Linked DNA regions of Homo sapiens: region 2 is linked to region 1. The links are contacts of gene promoters, found by promoter capture Hi-C in human tissues and cell types (Jung and others, 2019). All regions are on one chromosome and are shown on one strand. Each heading gives the region's core, a stretch centred on a gene start or on the middle of the fragment in contact. The rest is flanking DNA. Distances are from core to core; before and after follow the strand shown. Region 1 holds the start of THAP3 (THAP domain containing 3). Region 2 overlaps CAMTA1 (calmodulin binding transcription activator 1).

The links. The method cuts DNA at HindIII sites, captures the fragments that hold promoters and counts their contacts. A contact is called where the count stands out against the background at its distance.
Region 2: a contact is called between a fragment that was not itself captured here and the fragment with the promoter of THAP3 in region 1, in 1 of the 25 tissues and cell types used here (dorsolateral prefrontal cortex).

What each region holds. Positions count from the first base shown.
Region 1 is chr1:6,623,443-6,626,611 of GRCh38, forward strand. It overlaps THAP3 (THAP domain containing 3), which reads left to right and starts at 1,426. Exons shown (of 6, transcript NM_001195753.2): 1 at 1,426-1,512; 2 at 1,708-1,850. The coding sequence starts at 1,777. PHF13 (PHD finger protein 13) reads left to right here. Exons shown (of 4, transcript NM_153812.3): 4 at 1-588. RefSeq lists a silencer at 1,817-2,226. The HindIII fragment of the contact is 5,956 bases long and covers 1-3,169 here.
Region 2 is chr1:7,676,646-7,679,814 of GRCh38, forward strand. CAMTA1 (calmodulin binding transcription activator 1) reads left to right here. Exons shown (of 23, transcript NM_015215.4): 11 at 954-1,088. Among named protein-coding and RNA genes, the nearest start is that of VAMP3, 93 kb to the right of the region's middle. The HindIII fragment of the contact is 4,655 bases long and covers 1-3,169 here.

The DNA.
Region 1 (3,169 bases), core at 176-2,675:
TAACGCCTGTCCAGTGTCTTCACCACGTGAATAACCAGCGCTCCAAAGTGTTTTTCTGCTTTGAAAAAAAAAAATTCCACAAGCTTTTAAAGGTGCATTTAAGAATCCATGTGACTTTAGAATGGAACTGCCGGCCCTGGCAACTGTCACGTGTGCTAGAAGGTTCGATGCCTCTGGAATGCATGTGATACTCATCTCCATTTTGTTTCCTTGATTGCATTTTTGTTCTTTTAGCAGATCTGTCCCTGTGGGTGGTGTCTAAGAAGTCGGACACCTTGGTTTTTGTGTTAGATTGAGCTGGGCAGCTGCAATCAGCTTCTTTATATGCAAATTAGGCACGACCCATCTGTGGTTCCTGGTTGGTGGCTAATGAAGTGAGGGGAGGGAGGGATGTCACCCCAAAAGTAGGCCCTCCCATTGGCTTTGGCCAGGCCAGACACTTCACATCGTTTACATGGTTCTGTGTAATTTTAAAGTTTATGTGTATAAAGCGAAGCTGTTTCTGTGAAACTGTATATTTTGTAAATAAATATATTGCTACTTTGAGGTTCATGATTCAAGGTTCAGGCGATTGCGTTCTGTGCTGAAGGACAATTGTGTTTCTTTTCTCCTTGCTACCTCCCCAAAGCATGATTACATCAAGTCTCTGGGAAGGCAGCGTCTCAGTGTGCACTTAGCAGGATGGAAAATGCCCACGGTGTTAAGGTACCTTGCTGGTGAATTCCTTAGAAACAAACCACAGGACGAGTAGATGTGAATGGTTTTTGCAGTTTCTTCATCAGATTGAGGATTAGCTCAAGCCCCAGTGAGTGGTTAGCCTACTTTTGATTTTTTTTTTGTTTTTGAGACTTGAGTTTCGTTCTTGTCACCTAGGCTGTGAAGTGCTGTGATGAGATTTTGGCTCATTGTAACTTCCACCTCCCGGGTTCAAGAGATTCTCCTGCTTCAGCCTTCCGAGTAGCTGGAATTACAGGTGCCCGCCACCATGTGCGGCTAATTTTTGTATTTTTAGTAGAGATGGGGTTTCACCATGTCGGTCAGGCTGGCCTTGAACTCCTGATCTCAGGTGATCCGCCTGCCTCGGCCTCCCAAAGTGCTGGGATTACAGGCGTGAGCCACTGCGCCTGGCCGATTTTTTTTTTTTTCTTCTTACAAGATGACGCCTTCCCTATAGGCTGCTTTGAGAAAGCTGCAGCCTCGGAGTTTCTGCAAGGCCTGAACTGGAATCTCCCTCCCCTTCAGTTGCCCTTTTTGCCTCTTCACGTTTGGGGGTTCCCTGTGACCAAACTTAAGGGCAGTGAGCTGTCTGGCCTCTGAACTGACACCACCAGTGGCCAACTAGTACCACCTCCAGTGACGTCAGAGGAGTCCAGACCTATTCACAATTCAAAGCCCTAAAAACACTGAGGGGTTGGCCGTTGGTTTCCAGTTGTCCAAGCCTGTGAGTGGCTATGCGTCCTGGTTGGGTGCTCAAAGCAAGGAGGTGAAAGGCGACCAGCATTGGCGAATGGGGTAAGACTTGCACAGGCCCAAGGCTAGGAGTTGGGGTTTCGGGCCTGAATTGGGGCCCGGAGCACCCCTTTACGTGGCGCCCCGGGTCCCGTCCGACCCTGGGGAGACGCGGGTGGCTGGGATGGCAGGATGAGCGCGCCCTGGAGGCGAGCCAGGCCCGTCACCACCTCCCAGCGGCCCCGCCCCTCCCCGCAGGTCCCTCCCCTCTCCGCAGGCCCCGCCGCCGCCGCCATCTTTGTTGGGGGCAGCCAGGCCTGGCTCGAGATGCCGAAGTCGTGCGCGGCCCGGCAGTGCTGCAACCGCTACAGCAGCCGCAGGAAGCAGCTCACCTTCCACCGGTAAGAGGCGGGGACCCGGGGGCGCGGGAGGCCCAGACCCGGGGCCCGCGGACCGACTCCGAGGCCTTGGCGCGCCGGGCGGGAGGCCCAAAGGCGTGCGGCCGCTGGGCCCGGGGACAGGCCGAGGTCCTGGGCCCAGAGGGGCTGGCGCCGCCGCGCCCGCCGCGGGGATGCGGGGAGTGGCGGACGGAGGGGCAGCGGCGCACCTGGCGGGGCCAGGGCCGGGACGTGCAGGGAGCGGAGCAGGTGTTTGCTGAACAGACTAGCGGGCCGCGGCCGGGGTTTGCTGTGTCCCTGGTCGCTGCAGCCCCCGCCGCGCGCGGTCCTGAAGGGAGCCCGGCACCTGGGCAGTGCAGTGGAGGAGTGGAACCCCCAGGGGCGTCCTGGCAGTGGGAAGGGACTCTGCAGGGTCGCGGGAGGACGCTGGAGACTTTGGAGTCTGCTCCAGCACTCGCCCGGCCCGGCCCGGCCCGGCCCAGGAGCAATCGTCATTAGTCACAGTTGCGCTTTCTCCAAGGTCCAGTCACGGCACCATTTCTCTACCCACTTTTGGGCACATTCCGAAGGGGGGCTTGTGCTCATCGTTCCCATTCCCTCTGCTCCCATTGTTCTGTTTTGTGATAAATGCTTTGCTTGAAGTATACGTAATGTACATGCAGAAAAATGCACGAATCATAAGTATACAGCCCAGCGAGTTTTCCCCAAGTGAACGTCACTGAACTGAAACGTTACCAGCTGGGCGCGGTGGCTCAAGCCTGTCATCCCAGCACTTTGGGAGGCCGAGGCGGGAGGATCGCTTGAGCCTGGGAGTTCGAGACCTGCCTGGGCAACAGAAGGAGACCCTACCTCTACAAATAATTTAAAAAAATTAGCCAGGCAAGGTGGTGTGCCCCTGTAGTCCCAGCTGCTCGGGAGACTGAAGTAGGAGGATCGCTTGAACCCAGCTTCGAGGCTGCAGTGAGCTATAATCTTGCCACTGCACTCCAGCCTGGGTGACAGAGCGATACCTCATCTCAAAATAAGAAATAAAACATCACTACCCCCGAGAAGAACCCCTACCTGGACCCCCTCCCAGGCCCTCCTCCTCTCTCCTGCCCAAAGGGAACCCTATCCTGCCCGCTATCAGAGTGGATTGCAGTTCATTCGCTTTCGTTGCCACATAATATTCCATTGAATGCAAGTGCCAGAATTTACTGATTTGTTCTACAATTGAAGGGCATTTGGGTGGCCCCATTTTTTGGATGACAAATACATGGTTCTGGAGGCTGGGCGTGGTGGCTCACGCCTGTAATCCCAGCACTTTGGGAGGCCGAGCTGGG
Region 2 (3,169 bases), core at 429-2,928, 1.1 Mb after region 1:
GAGGCCCTGGGTATCAGTATCTGGTATTCCGGAAAAGCAGGGCAGAAGGCACAGAACCCAGACATCTGCCAGGGATGAGGCCTGGCGGGGCAGTGTGCACACCCACCATTGCCCACGGGCCACCTCTGTGGGCCACAGGCCAGCCCCCAAGATGCCAACATGAGCCATGGAGAGGCAACCTCAACCCAAGAGCTGAAGCTGGTCTCCACCGCAGGCTGGCTTCGTCTTACTCACAGTGAGAACATACCTCGTTTATTCCACAAATAGAGTTATTTGTTGAGCCCTGTGTTGGGGCCACAGCAGTTAACGAGACCTGCCAGGGCCCTGTCTTCCAGAGCTTACTGTCGGGCCACTGGAGGGAGGTGCAACCTTCACATCAGCATCCCCAGCTCAACACCCACTGGGGCTGAGCTGGGGCCAGGGTAACAGAGGCACATCTGAAGCTCCTTCATCGGGGAAGCAGAAGAACTAAAAATACAAGGGATGGCTGGCTGTTCATCGAGTCAGGACAAGCTTGTAGGAATAGGTGAAACAAAATAAGCGCAAATAAATCCAAAGCAAATTTTGTACCCGAGCCCCACCCAGGAAGGATGGGACAAGAGGGGAAGTCAGCCAGCCATGAGGCAGGGATGGGGGCCATTCACTCATTCACTTGTTCAGCCAGTCTGTACTGAGCACCCAGCTCCTGCCCTCACTCGGAGGACAAAGCAAAGGGGCAGTTACGTACCTGGGAGTGATCACAGGACAGCTGGCTGAGTCTGGGCGAACCAAGAAGGTTCCTAGAAGCAGCATTGTGTTTGGGCCTCGAATGAGCAGGCATAGGCTACCATTAAGGAGAGCTGGACATTAACCAATGAAGGGTAGTGGGGAGGGGACATTCCAGGCCCTGTGTGGTTCACCAGGCTGTAGGTACCCACCCATCCCTTGACCTGGTCTTTTTCTCTCGCTTTCAGCCCATGACACTGGTCTTGTGACCCTACAAGTTGCCTTCAACAACCAGATCATCTCCAACTCGGTGGTGTTTGAGTACAAAGCCCGGGCTCTGCCCACGCTCCCTTCCTCCCAGCACGACTGGCTGTCGTTGGACGGTAAGAACAGTGCTTGGGTCGTCTTGCCAGGCACCAAGGGAGAGGGATGCTTGGGGACTCTTGCACAAGGTGTGAAAGAAGAGTAAGCACCCAGAAAGGGGCAGGAAGTGGTGCCAATGTGAGCAAAGGAAGGCCGACTGGGTCTCCACCGCCAGGCTGAGTGCCTATGCTGTCAGCCATTTGTGTCTGGACACTGGCTGGCCCCACCCTCAATCTCAGTCTCTCCCTGGGACAGACTGAAAAGTATGTGAGTGTGGGCCTGTGGCTGGCACGCCTGCTGGGCTGTCTGAGTGGCCAAGCAAGCCCAGGGCAGCTAAGAGGCTCTGGCGAAGGACCCCAGGCAGCAAGGTCCAAGCACCCGCTGTGCCCCTCCAGGCCTGTTTCCGCGGGCTCCTGGAAGCAAAAAGGGTTCCCAGAGGCCATCGCCAAGCCCCAAGCCTCTCGAGAAAGAGGACGGGGAGGCAGCTCAGGCCTGGGCTTCTTTCGAATTTGGGGGCTTGCTTCTGCCTTTTGGGGCTAACCAGCCAAATCTTCTCCTGGAAGCCCTCAAATACCCTCAACTCCAGCTTCTTGGCTGATTTTAATTCCACCTCTGGCCTGTACGGCGTCTGTGGCAAGCCCAGGATCACGACTGTGGCAGAGGGTAGAGTGTCAGGGACCCCAGTGGGCTTCAAGGGAGCAGGCAGGACCTGGTGGTCAAGGAGAGGCAGGGACTCCAAGAGCTGCCAGCCTTGGCCATGGGGGTCGGTGAGTGTTGGTGGTTCCCCTTGGGGTACCAGGGGCTCTGCAGAGAAGAGCTGCCAAAGGCAGGCTGGGGACGCCAGAGCCAGAGGCTGCCATTTCCCACCTGGGCACACGTCAGGAGGCCCAGAGCTAGCCAAGGCCTGGGGGGCTGAGCCCAGTACACTGGGGATGCGGTAGGAGGGATGCCTGTCCATAACCTCAGTATCAGGTGAGCCCACAGAGGTGACACTCCATGGGGTACCTTGCTGGAGACCTTGCTAGCCCAGGATGTTGAGGTCTGGGCTAAGCTGAGCCTGAGCCCCTTGCAGGGGTGGGTTCTCCAAGCAACACCCCCTCACGCACCCCGCACCCACAGCTGGCCTTCTGGGTCTCACCTCTCAGACTGCCCCTTGCTGTTGGCTGCTGGAGGATTTCTGGGCTTGGGTACATAGTTCATTTCCTGAACCACCCAGTGTGTAAACCTCAGCCTTATCCCAGTCCCTGCCCCAGCCGAGAGAGAGGGTGCCGACAGCTGCCCTGGCTGGTGAACCCTCAGGAGACAATTCCCTGGGGTGGCTTTGGGTCTTCAAACCCTAGCATGGGCTGCCCTGGGGCACCGAGCTGCCCTTGGCAGCATCTCTGGCTGAGGCCGGAGCCAGGCAGAGCTGTGATGACCACCCACAGGATGTAACAAAGAAGGGCAGGGTGACCAGGGGCTCCCGTTTAGGAAATCTGGTTTTAGTTTTGCAGAACAAATGGGGAATGGAGTCAGGAACTCTCCAGAGCTCTGGCTCTCCCTGAGTGACTTGGCCGGCCTCACTAGAATGAACCCAAGGATGCTGGGACCACTGTAGGACCCTGCCTGGCAGATGGAGCCTTTTCAGAGAGCAAAGTCACAGTCAGGCAGTGCCCCAGAGCTCAGGACACATCTGCAGGCCCCCTGGAAACCCAGAGAGCCAGCTGTACCCCAGAAGCTACGGCACGGGAGGATGCTGCCATAGAAACCGGGGGGAAGGGGAGCCACCCAACTGCTTCATGACAGACACACCCCGGGACCTCGGCCACCCCAGGCCCCTCGAGATGGGCCTGCCGCCAAGCTGGGCACCTGCTCCCTAGCTGCCCCCCCCCCCAGAACTTTGAGCTCTGAACTCTGTGGGCCTCCAAGTTGAAATAAGCACCCCTGCACCTGCAGGATACACAGGAGGGTGACAGGAATTGGGGCGGCGATGACATCAAGGCCTGGGCGTCCAGCAGCATCGCCTCTGTTACCACCAGCCAGGGCACAGCTAGGGGAACAGTAGCTCCGCAGCTTGGACCCCCAGCTCAGAGCGCCCTGCTGAACCAGAGGGGACCAGCCT